6 separate regions of the Homo sapiens genome follow, and regions 1, 2, 3, 5 and 6 are each linked to region 4. Evidence: promoter capture Hi-C in 16 types of primary human blood cells and fetal thymus (Javierre and others, 2016). All regions are on one chromosome and are shown on one strand. Each heading gives the region's core, a stretch centred on a gene start or on the middle of the fragment in contact. The rest is flanking DNA. Distances are from core to core; before and after follow the strand shown.

What was found. The method cuts DNA at HindIII sites, captures the fragments that hold promoters and counts their contacts. A CHiCAGO score of 5 or more calls a contact.
Region 1: a fragment that was not itself captured here is called in contact with the fragment with the promoter of TLR3 in region 4 in 4 of 17 cell types (M2 macrophages, M1 macrophages, monocytes and 1 more); the score reaches 9.4 in M2 macrophages.
Region 2: a contact is called between a fragment that was not itself captured here and the fragment with the promoter of TLR3 in region 4, in 2 of 17 cell types (M1 macrophages and monocytes). The highest score is 6.2, in M1 macrophages.
Region 3: a fragment that was not itself captured here is called in contact with the fragment with the promoter of TLR3 in region 4 in 1 of 17 cell types (M0 macrophages); the score reaches 5.5 in M0 macrophages.
Region 5: a contact is called between the fragment with the promoter of SORBS2-AS1 here and the fragment with the promoter of TLR3 in region 4, in 1 of 17 cell types (endothelial precursors). The highest score is 5.2, in endothelial precursors.
Region 6: a fragment that was not itself captured here is called in contact with the fragment with the promoter of TLR3 in region 4 in 1 of 17 cell types (M2 macrophages); the score reaches 6.1 in M2 macrophages.

Annotation. Positions count from the first base shown.
Region 1 is chr4:185,631,842-185,634,541 of GRCh38, reverse strand. All of the region lies in intron 16 of SORBS2 (sorbin and SH3 domain containing 2), which reads left to right. Among named protein-coding and RNA genes, the nearest start is that of SORBS2-AS1, 45 kb to the right of the region's middle. The HindIII fragment of the contact is 2,635 bases long and covers 1-2,583 here.
Region 2 is chr4:185,607,874-185,610,573 of GRCh38, reverse strand. All of the region lies in intron 24 of SORBS2 (sorbin and SH3 domain containing 2), which reads left to right. Among named protein-coding and RNA genes, the nearest start is that of SORBS2-AS1, 21 kb to the right of the region's middle. The HindIII fragment of the contact is 1,477 bases long and covers 610-2,086 here.
Region 3 is chr4:185,737,663-185,740,362 of GRCh38, reverse strand. The region is part of intron 2 of SORBS2 (sorbin and SH3 domain containing 2); the gene reads left to right. Among named protein-coding and RNA genes, the nearest start is that of SORBS2, 73 kb to the left of the region's middle. RefSeq lists an enhancer at 2,695-2,700. The HindIII fragment of the contact is 1,147 bases long and covers 727-1,873 here.
Region 4 is chr4:186,067,724-186,070,423 of GRCh38, reverse strand. TLR3 (toll like receptor 3) reads right to left here and starts at 1,268. Exons shown (of 5, transcript NM_003265.3): 1 at 1,176-1,268. The HindIII fragment of the contact is 1,902 bases long and covers 1-1,280 here.
Region 5 is chr4:185,586,527-185,589,226 of GRCh38, reverse strand. It overlaps SORBS2-AS1 (SORBS2 antisense RNA 1), which reads right to left and starts at 1,302. Exons shown (of 4, transcript NR_186082.1): 1 at 1,037-1,302; 2 at 1-73. It overlaps SORBS2 (sorbin and SH3 domain containing 2), which reads left to right. Exons shown (of 27, transcript NM_001395207.1): 27 at 1,539-2,700. The coding sequence ends at 1,600. RefSeq lists enhancers at 1,648-1,727, 1,006-2,205. The HindIII fragment of the contact is 692 bases long and covers 1,144-1,835 here.
Region 6 is chr4:185,660,762-185,663,461 of GRCh38, reverse strand. It overlaps SORBS2 (sorbin and SH3 domain containing 2), which reads left to right. Exons shown (of 27, transcript NM_001395207.1): 8 at 1,220-1,358. Among named protein-coding and RNA genes, the nearest start is that of SORBS2-AS1, 74 kb to the right of the region's middle. The HindIII fragment of the contact is 1,579 bases long and covers 517-2,095 here.

The DNA of each region.
Region 1 (2,700 bases), core at 17-2,516, 440 kb after region 4:
AAATGACTCATTAGAAGACACAAGCAGAAATGGCACTGTTTTGCTAGCCATCAGCTATATAAAAGCCTCCTTGCAAGGAACTCTTAGAAGCAACTAGCATGGGAACGAAGTAAATAAACTGTTTTTTGCACATTAGTTGCTCTGTGGTCTTAAGTGAATACTATAACACAATAAATATCTTATTTTCATTAAAAGTCTTAAATATGTGCAACTGGGAAACACAACCAGTAGAACCGTTGTGTTGTAGGAGGTACTACTGACACATAGTGGTGACCACTGGAATTGCAGGTATAGAGTCTCAAGAAAATATGCAAATTTCTAGCGTCTCAACTTGCAATTTCAAATTATTTACCCTGTGGTAAACATCAGAGTGTGTGTTAAAACTGAGAAGTGATCAAAATATTTATATATTAAATAAAAGGTAAAATAGAGTAATCAGGAACATTCTGGGTTATTGAATTCAGTTATTTCTAAAGGCTTACATTTTATAGCCAGGCAGGCAGGCATGTAATCTGAAGAAAATCAAATAAAACAAGGGGTTATATTCTGTATGTTATGTTACCTTAATATCTGCAGAAAGAGTCTTATTTCAACATATGAACAACCCAAGAATTTATTTTGAAATTCAATGTGGTCAGATATTTTTCTCAGATATTTCTAGGGTGTTTTTAAGGTAGTTGGTTCATAGATAACTGAAATGGAATTTAGAGTGCATCATGTCCAATTCACTCATTTTTCAGTTAAAAAAAAAAGTAGAGTGCAATAATTTTAAGAAATAAGTCCAAAATCACATGGTAAGATAGTGGCAGAAAAAAAAATATATCTCTCTTAACCTTCATTTCTGTGCTATTTCCTTTATATCACACTTTTCAGCACTTCCAAGATATATATTTAGAGGATAAATCTTTTAAAAACAAATTACTTACTTAATATTATTTCTTGTTAACTATTGAATTCCTGTGAAAAGAGTTCTGTTAATTAATATTACACAATAATTCTTGGGCATAAAAATAGTAGAAACTTAACTCTATGCATTCTATTATGTGATGGTAGTGGCAAAAAAAAAAAAACAACACATAAAAAGCACTTTGCCAGTAGTTGATCTATTTGCCAGTTATCTCTGGGATTGAGAGGGGGTGCTGTATGATTCTAATAGCATATGTTAACTATGTTATTAATTTCACATTATAGTTTTTCAGAATGTAAGAAAATATATTCTCTTAAGGTTCTGGATTTTGTCTTTAATAACCTTTTGTTATTAAACATTTCTGGTAAAAACAAATGTAATTGATTAGACATTACCTTAGCTACCGTTTATCAACTGCCTGGTATATACCATGAATAACATAGATTTTAATCCATAACTGGAAAACTGGCATTAATGAAGAACAGTTACGGATATTTAAGCAAAATTTAATCTCATAGCTACTTAACAGAAAGAGTGATTCAGTATCTGTACTTCACTAAATTGACCTTCTAAGTGTGTTAAAATAATGGTAATATGTAAATAGTAGATCATAACTGGTAAAATTTGTAACCTCTTTTCTGGAGATAATTTTCATTTTGGGATGAGTACACTTCTTACAATTATTGTACAAGTTTTTCTCTCAGTCATCAATCTAGATTTTTTACTCTTATCTTACAATTTAATACTGAACTTTCTCTGAGTGTACATGAAACCGCAAAACTGGTTTTCATTTATTTTGAATGTAGAAACCAGTACAAGGAGAAATAGTAGTTTCTTAGCCTAACCCTAAAACACAATCAGTTCTTACACTATGTTTTATTTCACATTACAATATTGTTTAGGCTCATTATAAGTTGACAATTCAAATTTTCTGATCACTGTAGGGTTGTTCTAAGAGTGTTGTGAACTTCACACTTTTTGGTGATCAGCTGTGTGTGAGGGTGTCCCACGAAAGCCGTGATCTGCACAGACGCCGATGCTCTCAGGCTCTTCAGTGTCGCTCTTCTGCAAACGAGTAGAATTAATATTTCTTAATTGTAATATAACGATCTGATTTTATTTTACTTGTTTGCTTTCTTTCATATTTAGTATCTATTTTTCTACCTTCCCAGTGTCTGATTCAGAGCTCAGCAAATTAAAATAACCATGTACACATATCAGACTAGCAAACCAAACTTTTCTCCTGATTTTATATTTGTTGAGAACCTAGAAATCTAAATATTTTCTAGGAACTAAAAATATTACAATCCACTTTTTCTGTCTAAAAGGAGGATGGGAATATTCTCATGCAGAGATGCTTTTGTTTCTAGACAAGATTCCATTTTCATTTAGTAAGATAGAATTAAATTAAAATATTAGTTAATAGAAGCGTAAGTTATGCAAAAGGGACCTTGTAAGACTGATATACATACAGAATTGCAAAATTGTATTGTTTTAATTGATTAATTGGTGCTAATTTACCAATTAATAGAAAACTGAGTTATAGAAATAGTTTGTAAAGTGAGATTTGATTTCCACTAAGTAGATGTTTAATACTCTGATAAAATGTTTCTAGATGATGGCAACTTAAGACAACATTTGTCAAACCTTGCCTTTCTGGCTGACATTTTTAAGCTTTCATACAGACAAATGTTTTTAAACTAGAATTCCAGTTCTTCATCAAACCAAATTTTATCTGTGATGAATTGATCATCAAATATGACCAAAGGCAAAACTATCTATACTTGGTATAC
Region 2 (2,700 bases), core at 99-2,598, 460 kb after region 4:
GAAGGCTGAAGTCTTGGCATTTTATTTATTGTGATCCTCTTTGAAGACTGAGTTTCAGTTGCAAATAATTACCCTCAACCCTGTATTCATGGATAATATATGGAAGAGTTTGGTACTATCCAATTTTGTTTGCTTGATTGGTTATAGTTTTCCAGAATCTTCTTAAGTATATTTACTTCATTACCAGACCTTAGCATTTACAGATCAGCATCCTTCCTTCAGTATTTTCTATTGATAAAGAGAAAAGATAAGAATCTTCATGCATATATTTGTCTTATCCACCATTCAGTCATCTTTAAATAACTATCACAGAAATTTCAAAGCAACTGTACCTTCAAATAAAATGTTGTAAGGAAGAAAAGCATGTATGTACAAAAGCTCATTAAACATCTAACAAATTCTTCCATATGTCCTAATATAATATTTAATGGCAATATAATATTTTTGATCCCAATGTTTTCATCTTTGATGTGAATACAATTTAACTGTAATTGAATATATTTTCAAGTTTTTAAAGTAATACCAGATTTTAAACAGAGGCATGTACAAATTTCACTAATAACCAGTTTTTTATTGCTCACTGCTGGGGAAAAAATATGTTGAGAAGCTTATGTCCATAATTAGGAAGAAATACTTAATGGTTTTATCCCAACTGGTAATCCATGCTGTGATGTCACAGGCTTAATGAAGAAAACTTCCCGGAAGTGACAACCATTTTTAGAAAGATAAATATAATGTATTTCTAAATGATAACATCCAAAATATACTAAACGCTACAGAACCTATTTTCTAACTGATATTTACAAACAGAGAACTCATTAATAATTTATAAATCACTCTGGTGACACATTTAAATCACATTTCTTGACATACTGTCTTTGTCTTAGGGGAGACTAAAATGTATGTTGATTTTATTTCTGATATTTCTGCTTTTAGTGCATTAGAATCCAATTCTGATGCTTTTGGAAAACAAAATAATTGTATGGGTTTTGTATTATAGGTATAGGTTTGTGATCTAGTTATACCAGGATGCTTCATTTGGCTTTCGGTATAAGCAAGTCCATCATAAAGCTAAGCAGTTTAACCTGCTGACATGTATTTCGGTGACTGTGGTGGTGACGGCACAGCGTAGTCGCAGCATCAGATAGCAATGGTGATGGTGGCAGTAATGACAAGGGAATTCAAGATCTTTCTTTCTCATCTACATAATATTCCTGGCATAACAGAAAGTGAAAGTGGAAACCTGATGGTCTGAAATTATTATATATTTCACAGACTTTCCAAATCTAACTATGAAAACTTCTGTGTTATGTAACAAGGGGTATAAACTAGAACTCTAGCTAGTAAGGGAACTTCTGTAGACTGCTGAATGAGACTTGAGTGGTTTATATCATTGAAAACTCAGCATCTACAGGACTTAACAGGAGTGGCTGTCTACCTAGGCGCAAACCACACGTGCAGTCTCACTGTGTGTCAGCAGCTAAGCAGCCCAGGTCCTGAATCCTGTATTAAGATGCTCACATGAGTTTTGTGATATTTATGTCATCCCACGATAAGATGACTTAAAAAAAAAAAGCTAAATAAATCTAATTAATACCCCACTCCTACTATAGGACACAGGAGTCAAAAGTTAAGTAGGAAATGCATCACCCACTCACACACACTAAGTCCCCAGGAGCAAGAGGGCTGCTTCCCTGTGTAAAGTGTTATCCTAAACAATCAGCTGGAAAGTGTATCTCCAGAATCTTTTTGGAGATGTTTTTCTTTCCAAATCAAAGACATCTACCTGGAGAGACCTAAAGTGAAAGGTCCCTTCTCAAGGCTTTTAGGCACATAGCAGGTAGCATTTTCTCTAGTCCGGTAAGGGTAGATAAACGTATTCCAATGTTAGTAAGTGGCACTTCTGGAACTACATTTTTTAATTTCTAATTTTTATGGGTACATATGGGGTGTATATATTTATCAGAACTACTTTTAATACCTTTGCATAAAATTTCAAATGTATTGTTTCATTTACTATATCCAAAATACATCAGTAATACTACGTATGTAGAAGTAAGTATATTTTACTTCAGAAGATTAAGCTTCATAACTCATACCTCCTCTGATTTACATAAATGTCAAGCTTTGAAAGAGAACGGGAGCTGAAGCAGAAGTCCTCCCTCCCGTTAGCATCAAATGAGCTTTCTATGTAAATATTTACTTTGGATTTTTTAAAACTTTGAAGCCGTAGTTATGTAAGCTCAGCTTCATTCTGATCATGGGTTCCTGTCTTTGAGACATAGTTTTCAGAACTTATTCACTTAGAAATTTGTTAACATATAATGATCTAAAATACTTTATTCATATGTTGTAATCACCTTGCAAACATAAGTGAGAAAATTGTCAGCGTTTAAAAGATTGGGCTATCCTGCAGGACAAGAGAACACTACACACATTCAGGAAATAAAATGACTTCACTATTAGTTTTCATTCTACATTAACATTTCTCTGGAGTCATTTATACTCTACTAAGTCAGTATCTGGAAACCTGTAATATCTTTTCAACATAGTTTAAAGTAAGTAAGCATTAAATCTCTTAAGGGCCAGGCGCGGTGGCTCACACCTGTAACCCCAGCACTTTGGGAGGCTGAGGTGGGTGGGTCACGAGGTCAGGAGTTCAAGACCAGCCTGGCCAACATGGTGAAACCCGTCTCTACT
Region 3 (2,700 bases), core at 51-2,550, 330 kb after region 4:
CTAGCAGTTTAGCTCCCTGCCGTTTACGTGCCAGCAGGGATGAATGTCCTGACAGCGTGTGTCCACTGTGCATGTGCTTCCACTTGTCAGCATGGGCGAAGCCCAAGTATGATGTGTAGACAAGACCACCGCTTCTCTCTGCTCCATTCCTGCACAAGCCACACACAGCAGACTTGTATTTCTGTCAAGGGCTCCGGTTTTCCATCATCTATTTTTTATAGCACTGATACTCAACCAGTTGCAGCAAATGAAGGGTATTATTTCTGGTTTGAGGGCATCGCGATGCTGATTTGCCATTCCTAGGAAGCAAACTCACCGTGTTGGGCTCTCATTTTACCATGGGAGACCCGGCTCCACAAAACGTAAGTGTTTGGAGATGCTTGATATTTTCACAATGTAAATAACAATTTCCCCATGCATGAGGGGGAAGGGTCATATCATAAGATGGGAGAGGGATGGAAATTTTATTAGGTTCAATTTGTGGCAGGGTGACAGTGGGTTGAAGACAAGCAAAATAATTTGCTGTGTCCTTCAGTTTCTTAGTGTATCATTAATCTTTGAGAGAATTTGGGTATATTCTGAAGCAACTTGGTAGCATTTCAGAATCAGTGCCATGTGCTCTTTCTGAAATGTCACATCTCCTCATAGCAATGTGCTCTCCATATAAAGTAAACCTGCATTTTTAGATTTTAAAAAGAGTGATGAAGATTTGGAAACCAAGAAGCTTAGAGGGAACCATTTCTAAAGGACCAGAAGCCCTCATCCTGAACACACACCTCAATACGCACATCCCCTCATGCACCAACAAACACATAGACTTTCAGAATTTCCCTGCAAACTAGCAATAACATCAATTTAGAATGCTTTTCGCTTATAGTAGATTTACTTACAAGGATTAGTTAAATATCAATAACAAATACATGCATTTTAAGTTGCCCAATGTTAAGTTTCAAATCTGTAGCATATTAATTCCACCAGGCCTTTGGTGGTTTTGCAAGAGTTAATGCCCTACAATTCATTTCTCTATGAATATTTTTCACATTTTAGGTGTATAGCTATTATTGCTTTTTCAAGCCTGTGTTTTGTTTTGCCCTATATTTCCAACTGTAAGACTATTTATTCAGCTTTTTGACTTTGTGAATGTAATTAACATTTTAACTGGTAAAAAAGAAAATACCAGTCCAACCCATACAAATTGCTATTTTTCAGTGTTCCTATGTGCCTATGCTTTATCCAGCAGCAAGATCAATAGAACACCAGGGTGGAGACAAGTCAGCTCTCAGCTGCATTATTCACTTGCTATGAACCTTGACAGCTCATTTGCAAGTTCACACTTTTTTGATGCTAGAGTTCTTGAATCCCTGACAGCTGAACCTTCTAACTCCAGCTAACTATGCAAATAGAGAATGGAACCCAGAGGGTCCCCTTGCACTGGTATCACTTCCAACATATTATTTTGGTCAAACACACCAATCAATTCTTCTTGAATGCTTTCTAATAAAAGGAAACAGTATGTGGAGAGTGAAAAAAAGGGAGACTTGAAAGTGTAACAAAATAAGCCTGAACTTTGTGAGAGTCACAAAAAGAATTCAAGGCCTAATATTTAATCAAAATTAATTTAACAAAATTGTATTAAGACTCCTCCCTTAGACCCACTTGGGGAATGTTTCGGATGCTTTTTCTATATAAAGATATGTTTAATCTGATAGAGCAAGTGGAATTTTTATAACCCAGAAAAATTATTTATTCTTAGAAAAGAAAAAATCCTGGACATGTGACCAGATATGGGAAAAAATATTTAGGGGTGACATTTTTTGGCACGAAACAAAAAGAAAATAGTTTTTTTATGAAATACTTGGCAAAGTAGAAAGCTTAAAAATATTTCGAAACTTGCCCGGTTGCAAAACCACACAGCATGTCTTGTTTTTTCTGTTTTGGGAAAAGGAAAATCTCCGGGCTGGGATCGGCTTTATGAATCCCAACACTTCACTTCCCCTGACAGGAATTAGTTAAATCAACTGAAGTCCTGTTGGAATGCCTCGCCTGTCATCTGTTCTGCACAAAAATGAAACACATGGCATTCTAAGAAAATCCCGAAAGCAGCCAATTTCTCAGAAAATATTTGAATGACCCTGGAAGGTTAATGGCACAGTCATTTACACGAAAATTGCTTTAGATGTGGAAAGGGTATTGTTCTAGGGTCAGTAAAGTGTATGTGTCATCTCAAAGCTCCACATAAACAGGCTGTCTCGATTGACTTGGAAGTGGAGGCAGATGTTGAGGAAGGCGTGGACAGCACAAAAACATTCTGTGATTATTGCTTCTTGATGCCGTGGCTTCCCTCTCACTGTTTTCCATCCCGTAGTGTGTCCGTTTCACGAAGCAGTGTGGCTGCCATTGTGAAGGGACACCTGAGCGTGGCCCACACTGGGGAGCGCCTGTGCCCCTCCGCCTCCTCCCTGGAGCTCCCAAATGTGTTTCTGTAGCTGAGCGGAGGGTGGAAAGGTTTGCTTATTGGCAGGAAGCTTCACTGCACTGTTAAAACTGTTTTCCCATTTTACCTCAGAACTCAACATGAGGTCTCGATCTTTAGACGGTGGACAGACCCTGACTTCGTGAAGGTTTTGCATGGTCAATGGGAAAGTCCTTGCCTTCCTCATATCTGCCCACCACGCTGCGGTGCCCATCCCCGCAGAGGCA
Region 4 (2,700 bases), core at 19-2,518:
AACACAGCGAGACCTTGTCTCTAAATCGATAAATGAAATAAAATGAAATAAAATAAAATAAAATAAGATAGGGAAATTTCACATCCATCTGAATAACTAAATAAAAAGGTATAAGTATTTTGAGATATGCAAAAATTCAGTAAGTTTATAGCCATACGATCTGTATGAAAAGGTTATTCTAGGACATGCTTCAGTAAAACAAGCAAAAATGCAGTTAAAGGATGAAATGAGAGTGAAGAAAACGTTGCTGTTGAATGAGATCTAGCAGAAATAAAGAAAATGAAAAAAAATTAAAAAGAGACTCACTCAGCCTTAGAATTTTGGAAATATTTTGTGAGGGCACATGGAATTCACATTCTTTGTCCAAGTGAGAGACAATATTGCCTGATGGTTAGGACATGGGGTCTGGAGGCAGACTACCTGGAGTTAACCACTATCCATAGTTTGATTTGTAAACTTTGCAACCTTTGTAGTAGGTTCATACACAGGCACGCCCATATGAAGACACATACCAGCACGTAATCATCTGTAAACCTGGGAATCAACTTGCTGAAGCCAACTCCATTTTTACCCGAGTACCCCACAATTGCCGATACCAGTTTCTGATCTTCCCATACACCTTAACAACTTTCCACTTCTCCACTTCTTCCATTATCCTTCATTAGGTGAAAGAAAGCCATTTACTTACTCCTAGGCATACCTGAATGTTCTCTCCTATCTAAGACATTGTCATACAATGCCAGCTCCTGTCTCCCCTCCAGCCAATAAAACTAACAAAAGGGGATACGCTCTTTTAACCTCTTGGAGTTTTGTTTCTTTAAGGCAAAGATGTGATTTGCTAAAAAGACTGTTGCAAAATGATTTCCATAGCTTCCCTAATGTGTTTTTTCCAGGTACAGAATGCTACAGAGAAAAAAATTAAATACTGCATAAATACATTATCACATTAACTAGATATTGGTGCTATTACTTGTGTTCTGAGTTATACCCTTCTCCCATGCCCATATCATATCCCTTTTCTTCCACTTTCCTTCCTGAATAATTCTGACTAGATTTCAAGCACCAGATCAAAGAAAGACCAAAGAAGGCTAAAACCACATGCATTCTGCTAGCAAACTCTACTCAGCAAGAGAGACCCTGCCCAGTAAGAACGTGAAATGAACACCTTCACTTACTTGGATGACTGCTAGCCTTTCCTTTTTTCTTTAGTCCAAATCCAGACATTTCATCAGGGAAGTGTGTGGCAAATAGACGGCACTCTCGAAAGTGAAAGTAAAGCTTGAAAAAAAATGCTTTTATGTTTGGTGCATTCCAAGAAGGGCAAAGGGAGAAAACAAAAACAATCTCTGACAACCTCAGAGAGGCGTTTCAAACCGCCTCTGAAAAACACCTAGTTTTTATTTTATTTTAACTTTTTTTAAGCTGAGATCCTTGGATTTCATTGAAAGGGTCACAGATTTAGCAACAGCTAAAGTTGAAAGTGGGGACCTCACCATTTGATGTGGGCGGGTCTGGACCTCTGCAAGTTAAGGAATAACAGTGAATCCCTCAATTTTCTGCTAGACTCATGCGAAGCTGTCAGAATTGAGTAGTGTATGGTCACAGGGACAGAAAAAAAAATCCCTAATCAAAGCTGAAGTACTTTCCCTTCTTTCGTCTGGCTTTTATCTCTTTGCAACACTGTAAAATAACACCGGCAGAAATTAACCTCTTGATCCAGGAAGAAACTGAGTTTCACAGCAGAGAAAGAGCCAAACATGGCAAAGCTGAGAGCCAGTCCCACTCCTGCTGATCCACTTTTCCACGGTCAGACGCGTTAGGGAACAGATCAGTATGCCCAGAAAAGTTCAGATTAACTAAGAATTTCGTTCTTAATTTGCTTTAATGACTCCAACTAGTTAAGTAAATGTACTTGTTAAGAAATGAACTCACTTTTTTTCATTACAGATGTGCTATGATCTATTATAACTATATTGTTATATAGTGAAATATCACAATTGGAAGGAACTATAGACCACCTAATCTAACTCCCTTGTTTGAGAAATTAGGAAAACGAAACCTAGGGAGGTGAGTGGTTTGCCTAAGAACATGCCACAAGCCACCATATGCTTCAATCACACAAGTCATAAAACAACTGGACGGCTGGGACATGGCATTAGCTTGAACTCATTGCAGAGCTGATGGCAAGAAACAAGCGTGCATCATGGTGCAAAGTGCCCTCTTGTGGGCTCCAGCTTCAGCTAGACCGCTTTATAGTTACTGGGCTCAGGGCTACATGTCTCTGATTTTCATTTGTGACATCTGTAACATAACACCATAAGCAAACAGATGTCCTGAGTACGTGACTGTCCCTCACATCTATCCATTGGGATGTCCAGGAAAACTTCACTAATATTCAAAAGATTTCTTCTCTGTGAGCGCCTTGAAGGCAGGGTGAGGTTTATTCTTTGCATTATAGCTCCCCAGCAACCCTCTGAGGTAGACTGTTTCTTTGGCCTTCAATGAAAGAGACTCGTCCTCAGAATTCAAACCCTTGTGTGGCCTTCTCCCACGCTGACTCTAGGCTTGGCCATTTGACTAGCTTTGACCAGTGGGATATTAGCAAGCATGCAACAAGGTCTCATTGCCAAACACGATTACCCAGGCTTGAGAAGCAAGCAAATAAATGATTGTTGTTTTAAATTTAAAAAAATTGGAATG
Region 5 (2,700 bases), core at 53-2,552, 480 kb after region 4:
AACTTTAGTTTGTGGTGGAAGCAGAGAGACGTTCCATTCTTCCCACTTAAAAGGCAACTTCATCTTTACCATCCTAAAAAAAAAGACGAGAGGTCTTCTGGGAAAACATTTGTAGACAAAAGTATTTTACACTGGGCCACAGAAAGAGGTGAAAAGGAAACACAGGCTGCAGGGCAGAGAATGGAAGAGAGGAAAGGTGAGAGGAGAGGAGGGCTCACTCTAGACATCCATCGGTGGCAAAATCATGAAAGAATTGAGGCCCTGGTGCGGCCACAAGCCTCTGATTTTATTTCCATTAAAAGAAGAAAAAAAGGCCGGGTGCGGTGGCTCATGCCTGTAATTCTAGCACTTTGGGAGGCCGAGGCGGGTGGATTACCTGAGGCCAGGAGTTCGAGGCCAGCCTGGTCAACATGGTGAAACCCCGTATCTACCAAAAGTACAATAATCAGCTGGGCTTGGTGGCAGGTGCCTGTAATCCCAGCCACTCAGGAGGCTAAGGCAGGAGAATTGCTTGAACCCAAGAGGCAGAGGTTGCAGTGAGCCGAGATCATGCCACTGCACTCCAGCCTGGGCGACAAGAGCGAAACTCCATCTCAAAAACAAGGAGGAGGAGGAGGAGGGAGGAGGAGGAGGGAGGAGAAACGTAAAATGGCTTGCCTAGCCAAGGAAAAAGAAAAACAGCCATCAAACCAAGGCAGTAAGTGCCAGGATATAGGAGACAGATGAAGCTTGAGAGACCCTTATCCGGTCCATCTGCGCTGCCTAAAGAAGAATTTAGCAATTTAGTGCACCAACTTTTACAAGAAGTGTCCAAGGAATTACATTATTTGAAACCAGAGGCGAACATAATTATGATAGCCATTTGTGCGTGTGGTTAAACACACACCATGTTAAAAATCATGCCACTGATAGAACTCCCACACACAAATAGTGCTTAATCCTTTTTTTCATTAATGATTTGTAAATTGTTGAAAAATTGTATACTCGATGAAGGACTCTGGCAGTGCTGTTTTTAAATAAATGATGTGGCACTGACCATGATCTTCTGTAAGATGATAAAACTGTTGGAACAGCGACAGCCTGCCACAGATGATGTCTTCATGTCGCACCTGTGTTGCGCGGGTTGCTGGTCCCTGAGAAGCTTTGCTCTTAGGATTTTCCACTCACCCTGTCACCTGTCAGCCTCGCCTTGATCCCTCACCCCCGACTCTGGTGTGGCAGCCTCAGTGACTGAGCTCCTCCGCCCCCCTCCTCAGCAGGGCTGACTTTCCCTTTAGCTTGGGAGGCTCAGCATTTCTGTTTAGCCTGCCGCGATGGCAGCGCAGCATTTATGCCGGAGGGGCAGTGAGAGCGTCAGGCAACCAGCTAACACTGCTTATTTTGTCTGCCTATGGGCTTCATGTGAGTTGCCTGCCTTCTTTTCCAAACCCCTCGGGGCTTGCTGTCTTCCGAGGCCTTGTAAATGGGAAGTATTCAAGCCCATGTGTATGAACTGATATCGTTGTCACCCCCCTTTCATGACTCGCTTCTATTTTCAGGGACCTCAAGAAGAACCAAATTCTTTGGTACTTTCCCCGGAAACTACGTCAAGAGGCTGTGAATTGCGCTCCCTCCTTCTGTAGAGGCCGCCTGCCAGCCATGCACCTGCGTCAACGCGCCTGAAACACCCCGCGGGCCTCCCGTTGTCATGCCTTACGGTTTCCAATGCGCCGTCACCATCTCCACCTGCCACCAAACCACCAGCAGAGTAGCCGCCGCTGCTGTGAGCCTGGGGACGACATGGCAGGCTGGTCCCCCTCCGTGAAAGTGTGGATTCCTACTTCCTGCTCTAAGCTTTGACACGTCAAAATGTGGGATCAGAAAGAAAAAAATCATGATATTTAAAAATGGTCAAATATTTGAGGCAAAAAAAAAAAAAAAAAGTGTCTCCAGGAGGCTGTCCAGCCTCGTGGCTCCATTTCAACATCTCCCCCCAGGCGATGTTCTCCCCCAAGACGACCAGAAAATTGTTTATTGGGGAATGCTGTGGTTTGCATTTTCATATTCTTCGCTTGGCAGTGTGTATTCTTTTCACAAGTTTGCCTAGTGTCTTGGTTTACACAATATGACAACTGTAACTGTACTTTAGCTATTGTTTGCCTGCACATACATGTTGTAATATGCACAGTGATTACAACCTTTAAAGCAAGAGGAGGCGAGTTAATTTGGATGAGTGTGATTTTGCTGATTGAATGTGAGTTTTCAAATAGGAGTCTTTTTCTGCAATTTGTTTGCATTTTTTAGAAGTGCAAACAGTAAGTAAATAAAAGCCTTCGGTAATAATCATGACAATACAAGAGGCTGAGCTAGGCTACAGGGGAAAACTATTGTGTTGTAAAGTTGCATCGCTATTTTATATTAAAATGTAATGATCAGCATCATGAACAATGAGCTCTTAGTGTTTTATTTATCTGAAAAAATGTAAGTAAAAGCAGTGTTAGTGAGAGGTGCAAAGAATTATTCTAACAGACACCTGAAAGTATCTGTAAGCAATACTAGTAGGTAAGATTTCACTGTGTGTACACATACACATTTGAGATTGTATGAGAACATATAATCCATATGATATGTTGTACATTTTATGGAAATGTAATAGAATCTCACACATTATTTTATAGAAATAGAGTACAGAAGCATCACAAGTATTAAAGTTGGTTTTAG
Region 6 (2,700 bases), core at 57-2,556, 410 kb after region 4:
TTAATCAATAAGCACAAGGCTTGTAATGAAATGTTTATTGATTTGGGGACATAAGTGGTATGGTTATACAGTAATGAAATTAGACTTATTCTAGGTCATTTGAAAACCCATTTGCTTTAAAGTGAAATCATAGAAATACACAGTTACTATATCTATGTTTCAAGCCTGTGGAATAGAAGTTTGTTTTGTTTTAAAATAAGTAGAAAAGTTTCACAAATTATGCTTCTTTATCTGTGTGCCTATGTGTGTTGTGTGTATTTAGCTATAATTTTAACTAAACGTTCTTACTAATGTTTGATCTTATTTGCATGCATTGTGTGCGCCCTGTAATGATCAGTACTGTGCTGTGGGTAGACAGGCATGCTTAATAGTCCTGAGCTCGATATCTGTGAACTAAGCCGATTCAGTTCCATCAGAATAGATACCTATTGAACATCTACTCTGTCATCAGCACTAGGCTGCATGTTATACAAAATATTAAAGAAGCATATATATGACCATCTTCAACAAGAAGCTTGAGATACCATTGGGGATATAAAATAGTCAGATACGGAACAATCGAAACAATGAATAATTAAGAAATCAAACAGAGATTCATGAAGTGCTCAATGAGGCTGAAGTAGGGAGAAGCCAGTGGTTGAACATGTCTCTCTGATCCTTTACCAGGTATTTGATCCTTCTAGAATAGGTTGCTTCATGATATATACATCCAAACAACTAGGTTCCTTATGTTATTCACCAGCTCTGGAAACATTCATTCACTAGAAGATATCCCTGACTAAGTCTGAGAACCAATCCCTTGCCTCATGTCAAAGGACATCCACGTCAATGCTGCATGCGGAACAGCACCACCGTGTTCTGATTGCTGATGTTACGACTGTCAGAGCAAAGTCGTCCTCCACATTTACTTGGTACTGACTCCTACTGATACCATTTGGCACCTCTGTTGGCAGAGTGGCATGCCCACTAGTCAGCCACTTTCATTCTTCCTAACCACTCCCTGGACCCTCAGATACACAAGAGAGTGATTTTCAGAAATAAGGGAATAGAGAGAAGGCAAAGAATGTAGCATGCCCTCTGACATCAGTTTTCAAAATAAATAAGAGCTTGGCAGCTGATTACTCTCATGTGATTGGAAGTCTTTTATTATCACCTAATGGAATGATGTTTACAGGGAACTATGTGCTAATTTAACTCGATGCCTTTGCGCTTTTCTCAGAGCCAGATAACAGTGAATGGAAACTCAGGAGGTGCCGTGAGTCCCATGAGTTACTATCAGAGGCCGTTTTCCCCCTCGGCATATTCTCTCCCAGCCTCACTCAACTCCAGCATTGTCATGCAGCACGGCACATCCCTCGGTAAGTAATTTACTCACCGTGATTTCCATGGCAACCTCAATGCGGCAAGTACAACCACAGGAGAAAGATATGCGGCATCAAGGTGAGGCGGGAGCGCTCAGCACTCATGACCCTATCCCCAGGGAGAAACTGGGGCAGAGGACCCAACATGGGAGGAAATGGGCACCATGCTATTCCAAGACCATGTCTCCACCTGTGTCTGAGCCTGGTGTGGGCACTTAGATGTCTGAGGTGGTGGAGTAGAAAGAAAAAGAAAATGGCTACTTAGGGCAAGGGGGTTTGTGCCACTGGAGGACATGAATGCAGGTTTTCCACTAGGGCAGCTTGTTCGGACTTGGAAGAGCTTCCACCATGGACTATTTCCTGGGGTCTATATAAGGGAGAATCGTTTGACAGTTAAAACAGTGTAACAGGAGGACAGGCTGTCCCACATAGCAGGGACGCAGTCATCTACTGGCTCACACAAGGAGAAAACCACCATTCAAACCAAGGCTGGAAGACCTGCAGTCAGGGATATGGTAGCAGGAAGCCACACAAGAGAAACTTAAGTGTTCCCTTAAATGAAGGTTCTGTCATTGTATAGAGCAATCGTTCTCAACCCTCTGAGGACTAGGAATTCAGTGAAAGATAGAGCTCTCCTCCAGAAAACAAATGGACATACGGACGTTCATAAAAAATTGTAAGCAGATAATTTCCTGGGGCTCATGGACTTTTTGTGGCCTCCTGTGAAAGAAGCTTTGCTGTACAGTGATAGAAATGCTCTTACATGGTCAAGTATGTTCAGATAGTTCAGAAAATAATGTGATAAATACTTTTTTTTTTTTTTTCAAGATGGAGTCTCACTCTGTCGCCCAGGCTGGAGTGCAATGGGGCGATCTCGGCTCACTGCAACCTCTGCCTCCTGGGTTCCAGTGATGCTCCTGCCTCAGCCTCCTGAGTAGCTGGGATTACAGGTGCCCGCCACCGCACCCAGCTAATTTTGTATTTTTAGTACAGACAGGGGGTTTCACCATGTTGGCCAGGTTGGTCTCGAACTCCTGACCTCAGGTGATCCACCTGCCTCGACCTCCCTAAGTGCTGGGATTACAGGCATGAGCCACCGTGCCCGGCCCATAAATATTTCTTAGTTTGTAAAAATGTAACTTAAAAACCTAAAATATCAAAAAAAATACGAAATTGAACTATCATAGGAATTCAGGCTGTACAAGTTTCCATGATGTCGACTCACTAGGAAGCTTCTAGGACAGCAGGGAGCAGAGGGGAATTCTCAGGACAGCAGCACCATCCTGCACCTCCCAGAAAAGGAGAGGCCTGGTCCTCTGGCCACAGGGGCCAGCAACAG